Regions from separate parts of the Homo sapiens genome. Here all the other regions are linked to region 1. Evidence: promoter capture Hi-C in human tissues and cell types (Jung and others, 2019). All regions are on one chromosome and are shown on one strand. The core of a region is centred on a gene start or on the middle of the fragment in contact, and the rest is flanking DNA. Distances in the headings are between cores, read along the strand shown. Region 1 holds the start of ID4 (inhibitor of DNA binding 4). Region 2 has its middle 400 kb from the start of TRQ-CTG1-1. Region 3 overlaps LOC101928519 (a long non-coding RNA gene). Region 4 overlaps LOC101928519 (a long non-coding RNA gene). Region 5 has its middle 440 kb from the start of TRQ-CTG1-1. Region 6 overlaps LOC105374958 (a long non-coding RNA gene). Region 7 overlaps LOC105374958 (a long non-coding RNA gene).

What was found. The method cuts DNA at HindIII sites, captures the fragments that hold promoters and counts their contacts. A contact is called where the count stands out against the background at its distance.
Region 2: a contact is called between a fragment that was not itself captured here and the fragment with the promoter of ID4 in region 1, in 3 of the 25 tissues and cell types used here (H1 embryonic stem cells, hippocampus and mesenchymal stem cells).
Region 3: a fragment that was not itself captured here is called in contact with the fragment with the promoter of ID4 in region 1 in 1 of the 25 tissues and cell types used here (heart right ventricle).
Region 4: a contact is called between a fragment that was not itself captured here and the fragment with the promoter of ID4 in region 1, in 1 of the 25 tissues and cell types used here (mesenchymal stem cells).
Region 5: a fragment that was not itself captured here is called in contact with the fragment with the promoter of ID4 in region 1 in 3 of the 25 tissues and cell types used here (aorta, heart right ventricle and thymus).
Region 6: a fragment that was not itself captured here is called in contact with the fragment with the promoter of ID4 in region 1 in 2 of the 25 tissues and cell types used here (H1 embryonic stem cells and mesendoderm cells).
Region 7: a fragment that was not itself captured here is called in contact with the fragment with the promoter of ID4 in region 1 in 4 of the 25 tissues and cell types used here (dorsolateral prefrontal cortex, hippocampus, mesendoderm cells and 1 more).

Annotation. Positions count from the first base shown.
Region 1 is chr6:19,835,966-19,838,665 of GRCh38, reverse strand. It overlaps ID4 (inhibitor of DNA binding 4), which reads right to left and starts at 1,296. Exons shown (of 3, transcript NM_001546.4): 1 at 471-1,296; 2 at 24-82. The coding sequence starts at 911. The coding sequence ends at 38. The HindIII fragment of the contact is 7,095 bases long and covers 1-2,700 here.
Region 2 is chr6:19,230,279-19,233,016 of GRCh38, reverse strand. No RefSeq gene overlaps it. Among named protein-coding and RNA genes, the nearest start is that of TRQ-CTG1-1, 400 kb to the right of the region's middle. The HindIII fragment of the contact is 3,750 bases long and covers 1-2,738 here.
Region 3 is chr6:19,145,491-19,148,463 of GRCh38, reverse strand. LOC101928519 (a long non-coding RNA gene) reads left to right here. Exons shown (of 11, transcript NR_110860.1): 5 at 2,778-2,853. Among named protein-coding and RNA genes, the nearest start is that of TRQ-CTG1-1, 310 kb to the right of the region's middle. The HindIII fragment of the contact is 7,624 bases long and covers 1-2,973 here.
Region 4 is chr6:19,166,395-19,169,372 of GRCh38, reverse strand. All of the region lies in intron 3 of LOC101928519 (a long non-coding RNA gene), which reads left to right. Among named protein-coding and RNA genes, the nearest start is that of TRQ-CTG1-1, 330 kb to the right of the region's middle. The HindIII fragment of the contact is 3,647 bases long and covers 1-2,978 here.
Region 5 is chr6:19,273,005-19,276,080 of GRCh38, reverse strand. No RefSeq gene overlaps it. Among named protein-coding and RNA genes, the nearest start is that of TRQ-CTG1-1, 440 kb to the right of the region's middle. The HindIII fragment of the contact is 7,231 bases long and covers 1-3,076 here.
Region 6 is chr6:19,020,976-19,023,739 of GRCh38, reverse strand. All of the region lies in intron 2 of LOC105374958 (a long non-coding RNA gene), which reads right to left. Among named protein-coding and RNA genes, the nearest start is that of TRQ-CTG1-1, 190 kb to the right of the region's middle. The HindIII fragment of the contact is 7,195 bases long and covers 1-2,764 here.
Region 7 is chr6:19,041,510-19,044,542 of GRCh38, reverse strand. The region is part of intron 3 of LOC105374958 (a long non-coding RNA gene); the gene reads right to left. Among named protein-coding and RNA genes, the nearest start is that of TRQ-CTG1-1, 210 kb to the right of the region's middle. The HindIII fragment of the contact is 4,276 bases long and covers 1-3,033 here.

The DNA of each region.
Region 1 (2,700 bases), core at 47-2,546:
CGAGACGGGAAATGCGCGCTCACCTGGACAGCGCGGCTCAGCGGCACAGAATGCTGTCGCCCTGCTTGTTCACCGCGCCGGCCTGGAACAGCAACCGAACACCAAGGGAAAGGTTAGCAGGCGCAAACAACGCGCTCGACACGGTCCTGGATTGTCCTCGGAAATCAGGCTGGCGCGCCGACGCCCCCACCCCAGCCTGTAGCCGGGGGGGCCCCTCCGGGCTCAGGCGGGACTTGACAGCCCAGGGCGCCCACAGCCCCGAGTCCCGCCCTGCGCGTTCTCCCGGACCCGCGCTCGCCGAGCCCGGCCGGCTGCTGGCGGCCCGGGGGAGCCCGGAGGAGCAGGGGGAGGGGGCTGTCATTCCTGGCCCGCCCCTGCCCGGAGGACGGTGAGCGCCCGCGTCCCGCCACCACGCCACCAACCTCCCATCCCCCGCGGCGTCCGCCCACGGCCGGCGCCCGGCCTCTCACCGGGTCGGTGTTGAGCGCAGTGAGCGGGGTCCGCGGCGGCGCGGCTGGACAGGTCCCGGCCGGGTGGTGTGGCGGCGCGGGCGGTGGTGGCTGCCTCAGCAGGGCCGGGTGCGTCTCCAGCGCCAGCTGCAGGTCCAGGATGTAGTCGATAACGTGCTGCAGGATCTCCACTTTGCTGACTTTCTTGTTGGGCGGGATGGTGGGCACCAGCCTCCGCAGGCGGCTATAGCAGTCGTTCATATCGCACTGCAGGCACAGCGCCGGCTCGTCGGCCGCCGCCTCGGCCGCCTTACAGCGCGCTGCCGCCGCCGCCGCCGCCGCGGCTGCGGAGCCACCCAGGCTGTGGCCGTGCTCGGCCAGGCAGCGCAGCGCCAGCTCCCCGCCGCCGCAGCCCGACGGCGCCTTGCGGCCCGAGGGGCGCACCGGGCTCACCGCCTTCATCGCGCGCGCCCTGCGCTCTACGCGAGCGAACCCGCTGGGGCGAGCGAGGGAGGCAGGCAAGCTCCGGGCCCCGTCCGCGGCCGGCTCCGCTCCCTTTGCCTCCGCGCCCGGCGCGCTCGGGGCACCGCGACACTCCCGAGCCCAACAATTGACGGGAGGGTCGCTCTGGGTTTTACGAGGGAATCTTTGCTCAGTGGGCGACACTCAGCCCGAGCCCAAAGGAAAAAAAAAGCAAAAGCACCGGAAGAAAAGTAGCCCACCCGGGTGTCCTAGTCACTCCCTTCGGAGCTCCGACTAAGCCCGATCGCGGCCGCCGCGCTCCCCTAGCCCGGGATCACCCCACTCCCGGTACTACTCACAACCGCGCCTCCTCCACTACGCTCTCGCCCGGCCCGCCGCGCAGCTGTATTTATAGAGCCGTGCGCCCCGGGGGCGGGACCAGCGCGCGGGCCGGGTCGCAGCGCGAGCCGAGCGGAGCCCGCTGGGCGCGCGGGCGGGGGCGCGGAGGGAGAGGCGAGGGCGGGGGCTCCGGGCGGTGCTGGGGGGCGGGGAGTCCGGCTACCCGAGTGGAGGAGTGGGCGGGGGGTCTGGAGTGGCCAGCCAATCAGGCGGGCAGTGCCACCTCGGGGAATGACGCTCGGGCCAATGGGAAGGGCACTCCATTCCGTCAACGCTGTGGGTCGGGGTTCTGAGAAAAGAGAGCTGAGTGGGAGTCGGGCCAGGCTGATGTGTGCCCAAGGGAGGGGAAAAGAGAGAGCGAAGTTCCTGCGAAGAACTGCGGGAATGTGCGGCCGGAATTCACTCTCCACCGCCCCCCTTATCCCGACTAGGCTGCTGAGGGAGCGCCTGGGCCCTGCTCGCGGATACCCTGCCACTCCTAATAGCACGGCGCCCAGGGACCCTCCGCCACCCATCACTCCATCCGTGGGATTCCAGTGCCTTAAGAAAGACGCGCTGTTCAAGAAGGCACGTTCATTCTGTTCTATATTTCCCTCCTCCGTTTCATTATTCGCCTTTTCACATTTGCCGAAACCATAATGATGGAATGGAATGTGTAGCCTTTCCGTTTTCTTTTTAAAAAATGCTAAAGCTTAGCAAAAGTAGAAAAAAAAAGAAGGAAAAGAATGCCGAATCGAATGCAGGTTTTTGGTGAAGGGAATATAAATAAAACAAAAACGTGGGGGGGGTTCTTTTACCCCATCTAAATGCAAAAGTGGGCTCAAGAAATGCAGTTGCCTTGCGCATTCAATTAGAGCACGTAAAGATTAAAAATGCATGGACACGGAATATTTAAAATTCCATTATGACATATAATATTAATCTGTTTTATGTAAAATTCATACCTGTAACTTAATTTAGGCCATTAATGCACAGCTTCACGTATTAGTCAGCGTACCCCGCTTTAAATAAGGTGATGAGAATGTCCAGAGTCGCCTCCTTTGACAGCAAAGCATTAAAATTCACACTTCCAGTCTCTGGGATCCCGCTTGGGCCCCACCCTGCAAAAAAAAGCCTGTTAATTAAGGGCGTTTTTGTGTTAGATTTCTTAGAGAAAAGCTGTCCTTCAAGGGTTCAAAATAAAATTGCACAATGAGCTTTGGTGGAGCATTGTGTGTACCCTTCAAGAAAAAATTGAGCCCTTCAGATGAGAAAGGTGCATAAAAATTCTCAGACAATGGGGAAATGAATTTTGAGTGCCTTCACTCTACAAACCCTCCCACCTTTAGACACGCTTGGAGATGAATTAACCCAAGAATTTTCTTCATTCGTGTACATGACATGGATTGGT
Region 2 (2,738 bases), core at 128-2,627, 610 kb after region 1:
GTATCTCTTTATATAATCATATATATCTCCACATTCTTGTCTGCTTAATGTCAACTCTACTAGAATTGCCATGAAAAATCATGTAAACTTATGTGTTCACTATCATTTTATGTACCTTTAGTTTTATATATGGCTACTGTAATTTTTCTTTGAAAACATACATCTTATGGTGAGACACATGACTATATTAAGGGATAAATTCTTTGATGTTATTTTACAATAATCATTGATAGCTGGGTCAGGAGTAGGAAAAATTTCCCTTTAACTTAATAGAAGATCTAGCATTTCCATTTCTTTAAAGCAGCAACAAAGGAGTTTGTACACCCTATTCTGATAAGCTTATGGCAATACAGACAAGAAACATGGGGAAGCAGAGACCCAGACTTGCAATGTGGGTTGACAATGAATACAGGCCCCTCTCCACTACTGATTAATTTTCAGATGATCTTATCACCAGCCAGAGCAGGAAGAAAGGCTAAGGGTGCCTTATAGGGAAGAAAAATCAGGCTTTAAGTTCTGGGCACCCGGATGTTTGACTCTTTCAGGTACTTTGCTCATTCGGGTGATACCATTTTGTGAGGAATTTTGTTTAGTTTTTCTATCAGTATTTCCCCTCACACTTCAGTAAAATGTAAAATAAACTTAACTGACTGCCAAAAGCAAGCTTATAAGTAAACAGAGCTAGAGAGAGCAGAGGCAGAGTGCTGAGCGGGAAGCCATGGAGAGGAATGAGAGTCTAGCCTCACAAAAGCTTTAATAGGAGCCTCTTTGAAATGACTAACAATAACAGACTAAAACATTCAGGAGGAAAAAATAAAGTTTAAAAGATTATAAAGCAAAGAGGCTAGCAGCAAATATATGACACAAAATGTTCTGAAGCTGCTTTGCCACGCACGCTCTCTCTCTCAAAGCTATTTTGGCTTGGTTTCAGGTTCCAGGACATGGCTCAAAGGGACCCTCTGTCTTTTGGAAATTTTGTGCCAAGAACCCTGGGTCCAGAATGCCTCTGGGAGCTGGCTTGGTTCTGGGGAGTTGGCATAGACTCTGGAGAGTAGAATGTGGCAAATAAATTGTTGTATATTCTGACTATATAAATATTATACACCAAAAAAGTTGAAGAAAAATATTGAAAAGAAGGTGGATACATTTATAAGTTGCATTATCTATGATCACTTAGGGTCAAAGCTTGTCAATAAATGTTCATAACTCACACAATGGAAGTACATTCTTATTTAACAGTATGAAGTAAAAGAAAGAAAATGTTGACAGAATAACATTGAAGAAAGAAGGGTACAGGAAGAAAATACAGGAAAGTTTTTACTATTCACATTAAGGAACCAATAGATACCATATAAAGAAATGAATGTCTAAAGATACAGCAGATGAAATAGAGACCAGCAAACCACAGCTTATGCCAAATCTCATTCAATGCCTGTTTTCATATGACCTACAAAATATGGTTTTCGCATTTTTTAATTGTTGAAAAAAATCAGAGGATAATAGTTCAACACGTGAAAATTGTATAAAATTTAGGATGCAGAATCTACAATAAAGTTTTTCTGGAATGCAGTCATACTCGCTCATCTGCAAATGATCTACAGCTACTTTCATGTTATAATGGCACAGTTGTGACAGAGACCCTATGGCCTGTATTTTCTAATTCTAGTAATTAGAAAAATGATGGATTTGGTATATAAAAACAAAAGATGTTTCTTTGAAAAAAATAGTAAAATATTATCTAACTTAATCAAGAAAAAGAAAAAAACTGCAATTAAAAACAAACAAGCAATGAAACACACAACCAGATAGTAAAAAGGAAATGACCACATAGGAATAGAAGAAATTAAAGATTCATAAGAATTCTAAATTGAAAAGCTTGGATGAAAAAAATATGATTTACACAAAATGACAACACAAATGACAGAAAATCTAAACAGAACTACTTCAATAAAGGCAATAGACAAAATTATGCAAAGGTTATTCCCAGCAAAGTGGCAGATTTGGACAGTTTCATAAAGGAATTCAAATATTTTAAAAGCAAATAATACCAATGCTATTTAAATTGTTCTGGAAAAGACTAGACAAAAGAAAATCTCAATTCATTTTGGAAAGGGGGTATAAAATTGGTAATGAAACCTGATAAAGATGTGCACACAAAAAAAACTATATAGATTAATCTGTTATCAATAATAACAAAAACATTCTAAAATTTTTAGCAAATGAAATTCAAAAGTATGTAAAAAGAATCATTATTTTGAAAGAAGATTTTAGAAGTACAACCATCAGGAAAATGCAAATCAATATCATGTTACATCTATTAGGATGCCTATTATCAAAGAAACCAAAAGATAACAAGTGTTAGCGACTATGTGGAGAAAAAGGAGTCTTTGCACAGTGTTGGTGGGAATGTAAATTGGTACAGCCATTAAGAAAAACAGGATGCAGCATTCTCAAATGAAAAGTATAACTACCATATGATCCAGCAATTCCACTTCTGGGTATTTACTCAAAGAAAATAAAATTAGAATCTTTAAGAAATATCTGCATTCACATGCTCGTTGATCGCATCATTATGCACAACAGTCAAGATGTGGAAACAACCTAAATGTACACGAACAGATAAATGGATAAAGAAAATGTGGTATACACAGACAATGTGGTATTATTCAGCCTTTAAGAAGAAGGAAATCCTGCCATCTGCAACAACATGAATGAACCTGGAGGGCATTATGCTAGGT
Region 3 (2,973 bases), core at 313-2,812, 690 kb after region 1:
GAGAGTGGTAAGGCAAGCTACAGAGAGGGAGAAGACATTAGCAATGAATACACACACACAGACACACACACACACACACACACACACATATACACACACACATACAAAAGACTTATATTGGGGATACATAACAAACTCCTACCTATCAGTAACAAAAGGATATGTCAGTAGAAAAATAAGGTAAGGATTTCAACAAGCACTTCTCTAAGAAGCACATCCAAATGGCCAATAAGAATATGAAAAATATCTACCTTCATTAGTTGTCAAGGAAATTCTGACTAAAATATAAAACTCCTACGATACAACCAAATTGGCTACAATAACAAAGACTGACAATATCAACAGATTGTAAGCGTGTAGGGAAACTAGAAGCCTCACCCACTTCTAATGGGTGTGAAAATTGGTACAGCTGTTTGAAAAAGTTTGGCAGTCTCCATTAATATATATAGTATGCATAGTTTATTACCTAAATGTTTGTGCTCAACAGAAATGCATATGCATGTGTTCCCAAAATACTATTTGTAAGAGCACAAATATTAATAGATATTTAATATATTGTTGATACCTGCAATAAGATACTACACAGCAATGAGAACTGCTATCACATGAATGACATGAATAATTGCTGCACACACTACTGAGTGAAAGAAACCAGACATAGAAGAGTACACACTATATAATTCGATATATGTAAATTTCGAATACTGGCTAAACTAAACCATGTTGTTAGAAGTCATGACAGTGATTACTTTTTGGGGAATTGTGACTGGGCAGGGCATGGGGCTTCTTGGGTGCTAATGTTCCATTTCTTAGTCTGATAGTTAAAGGGGTGTGTTTGCTTTGTTCAAATACATCAAACTGAGCACTTAAGATTTTTACACTTTTCTACATGCATATTATATTTCATTAACAGCTTTCTCAAAAACAATCCAGATCACCTATTCCTTCTGCTTCTACTAATCATGTGAAGTCACTTAATGCAATTACGATTGCTCTCTAAAATTGCTCTGTAGTATCAGTGCAGTATGTAGAACCTGGTCTAAAATAATCAGGAAATTCCAACTTTAAAGATTTCATGTTGTCTTTTAAAAATCAACACACATACAATCAAGTTGTCAAGGACCCAGCTTGTCCACTGGAGATAGGAGATTCAGGCCAAGAAGAGAATTTTAATATAGTCATGCATTATCTATAACTTGTAGGTTGAATAAAGATAAGAATTAGAGTGGACTTAACTGAAAATAGCCTTGCGATAAAAACAAGTCACTTTATTTCAATGACACTCACTTCCACTGTGATTTTTATCTTGTGCTTATTTAGTTCCTAGGCCCAAACCAAGCCTTCTTGGTGTTTTTTTTTTTTCCTTTTCTTTTCATTCTTTTTTTTTTTTTTTTTTTTTTTTTTTGATTCTTCAGCTCTGCAAAGTCAATGTAACCTATGGAAATGGAATTGCCCTTTTGCACAATGTCACTGAAGACATAGTAGAGAAGGAAAGCAAGTGTGAAGCCAAAGTATTTGTGAAGTCTGAATTACCTGTTTTGAACTTGAATTTCAAAAACATTGTTTCAAGTGAATGTGATGTTATTTTGATTTACTATATTAGAAACAGCCCTTTCTTAGTTCAGTCTTGCAAGCTACTCACATAAATTAAAGCAGGATCTCATGAGGGCTGATGAGAGAGAGAGAGAGAAGACAGGTAGCTTCGTACAGGCAAGCTGAAGTATATGTTTTAAGTAAGACTTTGAGGGGACATTATTCAGTTTAATTATTAGGAATTCATGTTCACAAAAGGCAAAGCTACAAGTGTGTGGCTGGTTTATCAGAATAGGAAAGCAAAGGATTATATGGATTGAGAAAGCCAGAGAATTCAAAGATAAATAGAAAGTTATGGTTCAGGTCACATGTTATATATAGACTAGAAGCTGAAACCCAAAGAAGTTCAATTACTTGTCCAAGTTCATATAACTAGTTGGGGGTGAAACCAGGGCTATAAAAGAGATCTCTTATTTGTGATCCAATTCTTACACCACAATACTGTGCTTCCTTTTGAAGATTAGATTTTTATATCTGTAGCTTAATACACTTTAATCATATATCTTAAAATTTCCTTCTAAGTGATTGTTAGGTAAATACGTTTATTTTCAAAAGTAGCAGTATTGCCTCAGGAGGTCACCAGGAGCTTTTATTGCAGTTTTCATTGTCAGTTCTTCTGGGCTCCAGCTGAAAGCAACAGTCTCCAGACTCCTTTGCAACCCAAATTCAGAATGTGTTAAAATCCCTGGAGATCGCCTTGCCATGGGGCCCTAAAGAATTCATGTAGTCACTAACAAGAGTCCAGAAATAAATTTAGTGGCTAAAATATGGTACCTTGAGTCCCCACATAATGTGAGGCTGTGGGTTCTCTGCTAAAAATGGGGTCTCCAATGTTTGGCTCTGGAAGCTTTAGCGTGAGGAAGACCAGGGCTTGGAGGACATCTGAAGCCCTCTTGACTTTAAAAAAAATTTTTTTCCCTCTTGAATTTTAAATAGAGCTGAGCTGTGAGAATCCTTTTAAAGTTTTTGACAATTTCCTAAAATATAGTATGCACATTGCCATTGCCAGGTGATATGAGTAGAGCTCATTTCACCCAAGTCTTACATTGAAAACCAGAAAGCTAAAAGAAAACATAACTCTTTTTTTCAATTAAAAATACCAATTTGACAGATATTTTACTCACAATAGCCTGGTAACAACCTACCCAAATGGCATGTAGTCATGCATTTTCTTTCTCTCCAAGGACTAGCTATGTCTCATGATTTTCACATATATTATACAGAAGAAGAGGAAATGCTCAAAGATGATGCTTAGCTCAAGTGAGTACTCTTAATGAATGAGTGGAAGGGGAGGACCATTAAGACAACTGAAACAAGAAGAGAAGCAGGTCAGTGTGGGAGAGGGGTCCATAGACACAGCTGGTACATCATGCATCTATC
Region 4 (2,978 bases), core at 279-2,778, 670 kb after region 1:
TCTTCGCTCCTTACCCCTCACCTCCCACAAGCTTCTGCCTGTGTCTACCATTGACCAAACACAGCCAAAGTGTGGCTGATAGAAAGGAAAATCCTTGGTACCTGCTCTTCCTCTGATAACACAGAAGAACAGAGAGTAAAGAGCAATGCCTCCGAAACAAGTACACCCAGGATCATCAAATGCAATGAATGCACCAAGGCAGATCATCATATGTGCTTTATATTCACCATTGATTTCTCTTATTCAGAGCAAATGAATGATGGCCTCTCTCCATGTAGCTTCTTCGAGAGTACCTACAAGTTCAGAATAATTCCAAAGCCTTCGAGTCATGTCTTTGAGTAAAACTAATGTTTGGTTTTAATAAATTGCTACCTAAGTTTCCAAAACACATGTTGGAAGTTTGACTTTTAGAATTGTGTTCTTGCTAGAAAAAAATTTAAAAAAAAACTAAAATAGTTGGGAAAATGCATCTAGAATTCACACCTAGAAGATCCTCTCCAAAAATATCCAAGAGATGAACATAGGAAGGAGATTGTGTACCTTGAGAATCTGAGTGGCAAATACTTTAAACTAAATGTCAAACTGACAGAACAGGTTGATAAACCCTGGGAATTCATTCCCCAGTCAACAAGCAAGAATTACACAAATAAATTCCCACACTTCCTACACTTCTCTAAAAATCTATAACCTTTCTTAGGAGTTAGTTCAAAATAATGTAAATAACCTCAAATATAAATAATTTGAGACACGCTGCTTTTTGAAAGGTGATAGAAATGAAACTAAAGTAGCAGAAATAAAAAGAGTTGGGCACAGGGAGAATCTCAGGGCAGTAATGAAAATGGCATATTTTCAACCCAGTAGTGCTAAACCTTATTAAAGAAATGTCTGGAAACATGTAAAATGCTTTAATCGTCCATAAAAATAATGAGAGTTCCAACAACTTTAGCCGAATGGATGTCACCAGAACTCTCTAAGGCTGGTGTCTAACGTGTATTTTGTCTGTGAAAAGCTATTATTATTTTTTTTTTTCAGAATGAATTACAGTCTAATAGAAAGAGCCAGAATTATGTAGCCCAAACAACCTAATATGAGGCTGACTTAGGTATCTACTAAATGTATGGCCTTGGAACAAAGCATTTTATCACAAGAACCCTCAGTGATTTCTTGAGTGAAAAGGAGATATTACTTCTCTTATGGTTTGTGATAGGAATTAGCAATAATGTTGTTAATGTTGGTTGTGATTATTATCTTATTTGAGCATTTGTGCATAACACAAATTGACAAGGTAGCTTCCTTTAATATTATCACTTTTCTCTTCTCATCAAGAAAGAGATTATAACTTCTTGGAGACTCCTTAAAAATGCAAACATCCTTGAGAGGAGTTACTTCTTTAAATAGTATCTGTGAATATGGTGGTTATTTTTAATACCCTTGCAAAGCTCAGTTGACAGTCACCAAAGAGCAAAATTGGGGCAGGTAGTTGGGTGGAAGGAGGACTTACAGAAAGCTTTAATTCACATTGAACATGAAATTGAGTACCTTGTTTTTGGATCCAGCTGACGATCAAGAGAAGCTCACTGTTTTACATATTAGCCTCTAACTCTGTTCTTCCTTTAGACCTAATTGAAATGCTTGTCAAAAATGCCGGCAACTAGACACCATGCCTAGGATGTTAGAGCCCAGGAATCTGTATATTTATTAGGCAAGACAATTGACTCTGATTTATGTAGCCTGAAACCTCACTTTGAAAAATCACTGCTTTACAGAAAATATGAGAAGTTGCCAGGGAGGAGGGATTGAGAGTGGTGAGTGGTCATCCCACACAGACTGCAGCTCCTTAAAAGTTTTCCTAAGCTTCTTGATTCTGCCTTATTTTGTTGCCAAACAAACAAGAATAGGCTGAGAGTAACCCAGAGGGTTTTATGGCTTGATGCCATAGCTTTGAGTTCAGGAAATCCTTTAAATGCCAGACCCTGTTGTTGAGGAGAGGGGAGTGGTATCTATGATTACGTATTTAGAATTGCATTTTGGCATGATTAAAAAAAATAGTCGTTGCAAAGTATAGTGAATTTATCAATGCAGGTAGAGGGCCAAGAACCCACATTACCAGGGAATGGACAGTCCTCATTCTGGCAGAGATGGAGGGTGGGCAGAGTAGTATGACCCTGACTCACATTTCAGAATAGTAATTGTGCTTCTCCTTTGCCACTTGACCTTGACCTTTTCTTGCCATGTTTTATTTTCTGTCTTCTGTCCACTATGTTTTCTACTCACCACATCTACCACCCTTTCTTCTTACTCATCAATGATTTGAGGTGGCCTGTGGCTAAAAAGGGCACTCGCCTACCCTATATATCCCAGCCCAAATGTTAAAGAAGTGACTTACTCCCAGGTTCTATAACGATTCTATAATGAGTAATAATGACAAAAATCATCATTGCTTTATTAATACTCCTGCCACTACTAGGAATATAAAAAGTAAATGCAAAGGTATGCAAGAAAAATGAAAATTAATTTTTAAAAATATTCTTATGGTTATCTATGTTATTTCCATTAAAAATACTTTAAAAACATATAGTTTCATTGTTACAACAGTATTTTTCAGGGCCAAGATGATGAACCATCAGTAAATTCATTCCAGATTCAAAAGGAGAACCCACTAGTAGTTTGCTCCTCCTCCTGTAACATCTTACTGTGACAGAAATAAACTCAAATTGCCAAATCGCAGAGTAAATATGCAAGCTTCCTTTGCTGGTAGAAGTCTGTGAAATGTGTTCCTCGGGCTCTTTGGATTTCTGAACATGAAATTGAGTACCTTGTTCTTGGATCCAGCTGACGATCAAGAGAAGCTCACTGTTTTACATCCTTTAGACCTAGGTGATTTATGAAGCTGATAGCAGAACTTTAGAATGAGGAAAGGGCCAAGGCTGAAGTCTTTATTTAATCTGATTTCATGGAAAGTCCCCTTTTTCTTTTGG
Region 5 (3,076 bases), core at 469-2,968, 560 kb after region 1:
TGCCTGGTATCTAAGTAGGTGGTTGTCTGATAACCATAAACTTCCTTTGGCACCTAGTACGCCATTTACATCATGAGTAGTCCAGACAGTGAGATCCTTTCCTTGTATTATCTTGATAGCCTCTGACACTAAGACAGCCACTGCCACAACTACCCTTAAACAGTGAGGCCAGCCTTTTGCTACTACATCAGTTTCCTTACTTAGGTATGCCGCTGTTTGTGGGGCTGTCCCACGAGTCTGAGTAAGGACTCCAAGAGCTATCCCTGCTCTCTCTGTGACATATAGAGAGAAGTTTTGTCCTGTGGGAAGGCTTAAAGCTGGAGCTTGTACTAGGACCTGCTTTACGGTTTTGAAGGCTGTTTCTGACCCTGGTTCCCATTCTACTAGATGAGTATTTGCCCTCTGGGTCTCCTTGATTAGAGTATAGAGGGGCCTGGCTATCTCGCTGTATCCAGGGATCCATAGTCGGCAAAAGCCAGTGATTCCAAGGAACCCCTGCAACTGTTTTAATGTCTTCGGGCGAGGGTAAGCCAGTATAGGCTGTATTCATTTCTTGCTGAGGGCCCTAGTCCCTCCGGCTAAGATTAGGCTTAGATATTTGACCTGCTGTAGGCAAAGCTGGGCCTTCGACCTAGACACCTTGTACCCTTGATTAGCTAGAAAGCTCAAGAGATCTAGAGTAGCCTGCTGGCACAAGGCTACCAAACTGGTAGCCAAAAGTAAATCATCCACATACTGAAGGACCAGAGTGCCTGGACTTGAGAAGTGGCCTAGATCTTGGGCTAGTACCTGACCAAACAGGTGAGGGCTAGCCCTAAACCCTTGGGGCAAGACCATCCACATAAGTTGGGACATGTGGTCTGTGGGCTCCTCAAAGGCAAAGAGGAACTGGGAGTCAGAGTGCAGGGGAATACAGAAGAAGGCATCCTTGAGGTCCAGAACAGTGAACCATTCTGCTTCCTCTGGTATTTGAGAGAGCAGGGTATAGGGGTTGGGTACAACTGGATATAGAGGAATTATTGCCTCATTGATGAGTCTAAGATCTTGCACTAGTCTTCACTGACCATTCGGTTTTTGTACTCCTAGAATTGGGGTGTTGCAGGGACTGCTGCATTTCTTTACTAAGCCTTGAGCTTTTAAATGTTTAACAATATCCTGTAATCCTTTATGAGCTTCAGGCCTTAAGGGATATTGCCTTTGATAAGGAAAAGTGGTGGGATCTTTTAGCCTGATTTGGGCTGGGCAGGCATTTTTTTTGCCCTTCCAAATTGTCCCTCCAATGCCCAGATTTCACGGTTGATTCACCCCTCAAGTAGGGGACAACAAATGAGTAACTTGTTCCCCATATTCATGTAGATAATAGCTCCAGCTTTGGCTAATATATCCCTCCCTAATAAGGGTGTGGGACTTTCAGGCATGACAAGAAAGGCATGTGAAAAGAGCAAAGTCTCCCAATTACAACTGAGGAGGTGGGAGAAATACCTGGTTACAGGCTCTCCCAGGATTCCTTGGATGGTAACGGACCTTGAGGACAGTCGTCCAGGAAAGGAGATTAACACTGAGAAGGCCATGCCAGTGTCCAGGAGGAAGTCAATTTCCTGGCCCTCAATGGTTAAATGTACCCGGGGCTCACTGAGGGTGATGACGTGAGCTGGCACTAACCCTGGGCACCCTCAGTCCTGTTGTTGGATCATGTGGTTGGGGGCTTCTACCCAGAGAACCTTTGTCCTCTGGGGCAGCGCACCTTTCAGTGATTGCCTTGGCATAGCAGACATGGATGAGGGGGTGGCTTGTTTCTCGTTGGACAATCTTTTTTAAAGTGTCCTTGCAAACCACACTGGTAACAAGCCCTACTGGGTGATTGGCCTGTTCCATTTTCTGTCCTCTCTGAACCTCCAGGGTTTGTTTGTCTGAGGGCCATGACTAAGGCTGTGGCCTTTCTCTGGTCTCCCTTTTCCTATTGGGCCTATTCCTTTTGGTCCCTACTATAGAACACCGAGGTTGCCAGGTTTAATAATGTTTCCAAATTTTGTTCAGGGCCTAGGGCTTGCTTTTGGAGCTCTCTCCTGATATCTGCAGCTGATTGAGTAATAAACTTATCTTTTAGAATCAATTGACCCTTGAGTGATTTGGATGACAGGGGAGTATATTTTCTTAAGGCCTCCCATAGCTGCTCGAGGAAGGCAGAAGGATTTTCTTCCTTTCCCTGAGTTATGGTGGACATCATTGAATAATTCATGGGCTTTTTCCTAATTCTTCTTAGTCCTTCTAGAACACAGGTCAACAGATGTTTACAACTCCAGTCCCCATGATCTGAGTCAAGATCACAGTGGGGATCCATATTGGGGATGGCTTGCTGACTGGTAGGGAATTTGTCCCTTTCTTTGGCTGTCATTCTATCATTTAGTTGACTAAGATACCAGGTATCTCCAAACTCTTGGGCTGCAGCTAAAGCTGCATTCTTTTCATTAAAGGCCAAGGTTTGATGTAACAATAGCATGACATCTCTCCAAGTAAGATTAAAGGTTTGCCCTAGACCCTGTAGGACATCTATGTACCTATCAGGATCATCTGAAAACTTCCCCAGGTCTGCCTTGATCTGCTTTAAATCAGAGAGGGAGAATGGGACATGTACCCATGTTGGGCCAAATTCCCCTGCCCCTACAGCTTGAAGGGGACATAACCGATAGCCTGGGGGATTTTGTGGTCCTTTGGAGATTTCTTTGCTTATTTCCTTCTGGGCAGGGGAGATTAGAGGAGGATTATCATTAATAGGAAGGGGAGCTATAGGGAGGCTAGGATATGGGGGTAAGCTGAGAGGTCCTCCTGTGAGATGTAAAATGTAGTTGTGTATTCTCCTTCAATGAAAAGAAAGCTTGGACATAAGGTATTTCATTCCATTTGCCTTCCCTCTTACAAAAAAAGTCAAGCTGCAGGATAGTATTGTAATGTACACTTCCCTCAGGTGGCCATTTTTCCCCATCAGAGAGAGAATATTGGGGCCAAGCCATAGTGCAGAAAAAAATGAGCTGCCTTTTTTTCAGGGTTTGTGGGTCAAATTGGTCCCAATGATTTA
Region 6 (2,764 bases), core at 95-2,594, 810 kb after region 1:
TTCTTTTGTACTATTGTATTAAAATTAAGTAAACAAAAATCATTAATCAGGCAGATGTGGAGAGGTAGATTGTACAATATAACCACACAAGGAACTACCTGAAATTACAGCAACCAACTTGCTTTTGTCCTTTTGGAGAGGAGATGCTGCTCTTTTTATGTTAGGACTAGGCTCAAAATCCTAATCCTAACATGAATGTATCTCATGAGTGTAATTTATCTCATGAGGTCTGTCCCAGTAGCTCACTAGAGTAGCAACCATCACATCAATATTGTTGACTTAAGCACCCCTTACCTTTAAGTTATGTTGGCAATAAACACAAAGAACACAAAGCAAATAAAGGATAGCATGGGGATTGTTAAGACATTTCTCTCTCTGTCTCTGTCTCTCTCTTTCTATACACTGTAGTCATACACTGGTAGGGGCATAATACCATATGTAACAACAGGGAGTAGGTGGATGATCTGCTGGATTTGTTTGTTTCTTCAAGAAGACCCTGATTCTCCTTAAAAGCCAAATTTTCACAATCACGTGCCTTTAAACCACAGGTTGGAAAACTGAGACAGCCCAAGTGATTTGGAGTGCCTGGGCCACCTACCAGTTTTAAACAAAATTGTAAAGATTTCCTGTCTTTTTCTTTCTTTCTTCTTATTCTAACCAGGCTTTCCAAGTGCCAGCCTACCTCTATTTCTGTTCTCAGACGACTTTCAAATAATCCCTGCTAGAGTGTTAATTGAAAAGCAAGGTATTAACTGATTATAGCTTAGTATGATCCCTCCTAGGGTGATTTTATTTTCATAGGGGACTCATAAAGGTTGGTGTGAGTAACAGGGAGTGAAGGCTCAGAGATGACCTTCAGGAGGCTATAGCTAACTCCAACACCTGACGGAGCAAATAAAAAATATTTGTTATGCAGCCTCTGAAAGGTTGGCAAAACCTTGCTTCAGGCCCTGTTTAAACACCCAGTCTCTGTCTACTACTTTTGGAACTGAACTGCAATAAAACCTCTTATTTTCCTGACCCAAGAGGAAATATTTTATAAATTATAGCGTAGAGAATTATTTGGCCAATATTTAGACCGGAAATACCCTGAAGAGTGAGAAAGGTAAGGAAAAGAACAGATTTGGAGAAAGCACAAAGGCCAAAGTCAATCAACAAAATGCTTAATAGTGTAAAGAGAAAAAACTTTTCAAGTGTCCAAGCATAAATGTCAAGAGTATTTCAATAAAACCCAAAAGGCTCGAAGTTGAAGCAGGTATGAGAAAAGGGGAATAGAGAAGATCCCCGAGGAGAATACAAGCATGTGGGGTGTGTATCTCCATTTACACAATAATTGTTCCATCACCTTCCTGTTTCACCGTACTTAATATTAGCAACTGCTTCGCCTGATAAGAAATGGTATCAGCCCTTTATAAAAGAGGTATCCCTGAGTCAGGATGTTTAAGCCAGCAAAAACTGGTCACAGCTGAATCCAAATCCAAATGTTCAATAGCTGTTCTTAAACTTTACTGTGCATAACTCACCTAACAATGTTCATGTAACATGAAGATTCCAGAATCACAGCTGAGGTGATTCCAATGCAGCAGTTCTGGGGCATGGCCCAGGAGTTTACAGTTTAGGAGCATGCCAGTTGATTCTAATGTAGGCAGTGGGCCACTGTGAAACAGGTTTCAGAAAGCCTAACCCAGGGTTTGTATTCAGTGCTTGCACCCCTCCTTCCATCTCTCAAACTGCCATTTGCTCCAGCAACATTCCTGGACAAACCAGCTTTGGGGAAGTTGAGACTGAGAGCTCCTCTCCTCATTGGCACCATGCATCTCTCACCTTCTGTTCCGAGTGCGTCACCTCCCATGCGGGCTGCTGCGTGCGACGCCTGCAGGAACCTACTCTGTGCTCACACAGGGGCAAAACTGGAAATGTGAGGAGGGCTAAAACTCCCAGGGGGATTGCTTGACCAATGGAGGCAGGAGCCAGTAGGTAAACATTCCCAAGTTGCCATTCCTCAGGACAATTTTCTGAAACTTATTCTGTATAATTCCCCCAGAGGGTCCTAGCAGGAATGAATTCCAGTTGCCCACAGGGATGGCCAGCTATATAACTCTTCTTCTCTTCCCAGTCCAAAAGTAAACCACTTATCCAAAAGTAAACTACTACATGGGAGCTCTTGCTGCAAACTCTGCCATCTGAGAAGAACACAGGCTCAGGGAAGGTTCACCTGAGAGACTGGCTCTGGAAACCAAGAAGGAGAGGGTGAAGGGGAGGGACAAAGAGCCCTTGGTATATTCTTCTCATGCAGCCTCACTCAGAGTAGCCCCATTTTGTCTGTTTTTTGCATTACACTTCTCCGTTTTAGTTTCCTTAAAAATAAAATTATGGAGATAAAAGGCATTTGAAAATAATCAGTCTAAGAAAAAGGCTCAAATCTTGGCAGCAAGAGCCCAAGATTTACCACTAGTACAACCTGAAATCAAGTACATAATATCCCCAGCATTCGTTTTCTTGTCTACATGACAGGGTTGTTGAGACAGTAACACACGATTATTATTAACTGATAATATAAAACTAATAGGAGTATGCCATGTGGCCCAGACCCAATCTCTCACTCCATGCAGTTGTCGTCAGGCTCGTTTGATTCCGTGATTTTGTTCACACTAATAAGCCACTGGACACAAGTCACACATATCCTAAAGTGGTTAGTTAGAAATCTTACGATGTTTGTGCAAAATTTGGCTTCATCTGTTGATGCTGCATCGATATGAGTTTG
Region 7 (3,033 bases), core at 265-2,764, 790 kb after region 1:
ACTGTGTCCTCTTTTATCATAAAAAGTGTAGGGCAAGTAGATGCTTCTATAGCAGAGAAGGACTTTGGGCTCATGAATTACATGCTCCATTATGGTTGGCTCAGTAAAGATCCTTTGCAAGACGGAAAAATATTTAAACCTTGGTCCTCCTTGTGAAATACCAGACAGAGAAAAAACAAATTCGAAAAGATGTGTATTTTCTTTTTGTGAAACATACAGCAATTTCTAAAATATTTGCAAACATTTAGCTCTCATCTGCAGTATAAGCATACTACTACCCACTTAGGGATTAGAAGCAAAAGTATTCGGCATCTGGAATATATGATAGAAGAGACTTAGTAAATGTGGCTTATTAACCTCTTCTCTTTATTTCTCAGAAATGTAAGTGAACACTACACAGGACTTTCGAGGAGCAGAATTTTGAAGCTATATCTTAATATCTTATTATATTTTTCCCTCAAGCACTGAAGAAGTACAGGATGAAGCCAGTTCTTTGAATCTGAAAAGCAAAATCAGATCCCTGTATTTTTTTAAGTTGGGATGTGTAATCTGGTGCTTCTGGGTTGTTTTTATCTAGGATCATGATGACCTGTTATGAGTGTGCTTTAGCAACCTTGAAAATGGATAACATCAAAATGCAATTTACTGTACAAAAACGGCATGAAACAATGCATCTTTCAAATATGCTTTGAAATGCTGATTATGATGGTGTCACAAAAATTAACAGTAAATTACAAAATAAGTACATGATAGCATAGCAGTGCATTGTTAAATGAAAATGGGTAGGGGAGAGAATGAAAACATAATAGGCATCTTCTTTCTAAATTTCTTATTGCCAAATCTTAAATGAAACAAGAGGCATAATCACAAGTACATTAGGAGCACAGCCCAGAAATTGTTTAGGACAACGTGCTTTTAAAGGTTGAAGGTCATGTCACTTTCTCCATTTTGGCCTGTTACACTCATGAAGACAAAGGTAAGTATGTTTCTAGTTAATAGAGTAGCCACAAAATCAATATAGAGAAATAGTAAATACATAGTGCAAATGTTACTCGAAGGAAATACTATCAAGGAAAAGACACTTTCAGAAAAAGAGAGGACTTTAGAAGCAATTTTGTTCAACTGTATTTTTATTGGTGAGGAAAATGAAGTTCTGAGATGTAAAGGACATAGGGTGTTTTGTGTGTGTGTGTGTGTGTGTGTTTTCAGTGTAGAATTGAACCCAGGCCCTGTAAGATGTTAGTGTTTCTCTTACCTTTTACATCCTATTGGATCTAAGAGCGTGAATTGAAAGGATTTAAGTATAGCTACAATTTCCTTTCTATAATAGGGCTCGTAGAAAGTCAGGTGGACTTTACAAAATAAGTGAAAGGCAATTTTCAGCAATGAAAAGGTTTTGATTCTAAACTGTCTCTATTTAATAATCTGTAATTCTGCTCACATCAAAAAGAATGTCAGAAGAGAATTAGAGATGGGTTTTTCACATGGGGCTTAAGTGGATGTGGTTTGATAGAAAACAATCATTTTATTTTCTAATTAAGTTTATACAATTTGGCAACCATATCCATTTCCCAAAAAGAATTTCCTGTGGATTCTACAAACTGGAAGTCAGAAATAATACTGCTCAAAAGTCTCTCCTTCCTTTCCAAACTCCAGTTTAAATTTGTCTTCTTGACACGAAAATCCAAGCAAAGCTTTGCCCAAGCCTGAAAAAGCTTTATATGAGGTTCCAGGGAAAAACAAGGCAAAATAATACAAATAGCACCTCTGACAGCAGAGACCAGAGCTCTGCTCTCTGTGATTTTCCTGGCTGTTCAGTAAAGGTCTTGATGCCTGGTGATAAATAGACTGCATGTGTACAGTAGAAGATAAAAATGATCTCCGTTGGCCCTTTCCCAGCTACAGATGCCATTGCTTTGACCTTAAGCATCGTATTCCAGCCCCAGTTTGCTGAAATGCTCCAAGGCAAAATACTCTGTATCATTCTGCCTCAGTGTGGCGAGAGGCTCCTGGGCCTGGGAATGTGCTCATATTTGGTGATGTCTTCCTGCGTCACTAAAGCAATCAGATGGATCCAGATTGAAAAGACAATAAGGGCTGAACAAAAGCCGAGAGGGCAAACAGATGGGTAATGATCCCCTCTTCTATCATTCGTGTCTATAGAGAATTATTCAGCAAAATTGAACTCTCTGATGAACAGAGCCCAAGATAGCTTTATGCAATGAAAATAATGGGATTCTTCCTTTCTATTTGCTTCTGTGCTCTGAGAGAAATGGTAAAATGATATTCTTATTCATGGTAGTAGAAAAAAAAAAAGGATCTACTGATGTTTGTCACAGTCAGTAGTGTGATACGAGAGAGTGAGAACTTTTTCAGTCAGGCTCCCTTTATCATGAATCAGGATGTATGTGGGAGATCTGTCGACACCTCTGTCAGTTCCCAGAGCCCCCGATCTGGGATAGATAGCGCCTGGGGAAAGAAACGGAACATCTGCTCTTCTAAGTTGACTCTGGAAATCAAGAGAGCCAAGTGGATAATAACTTCTCATTCAGTAAGTTTTGAAATAATTCAGTAAACTATGATTTGAAAACCTGTAGCGATGGACTTGGGAAAAGGAAGTCCCCCATATCTAAGGATGTGGAGGCTAGAAAGTGGGGAGGTGTTTGCTAAAATGAGAAGTTCATTGGTTACTTTCATATTTTATGTGCCCCCTTCATCCCAACTGCATGCCTCTGAAAGGGTGTTACAGGCACTGTGGGTACCAGTGGCAGTACCTCTGGTGAGGCATAAATCTAGTACTGCTTACCACTGCAGAGGTATCCCTAACCAAATGCTACTGCAGTCTTGCTGGGTGTAGGTTTTGTGGTCCTGTTTTCCCCTGAAACATAGCAGAAAACATCTTTTAAGCTTAGGTTCTGAGTTATCACGGTCTGTGTTTCCACCAAGGGAGAGTGAGTGACGAGCCACTTAGGAGAGATACCTATCAACCAGATAATCTAGAAGAAATTCTTTCAGACTAGATGAATAATATCT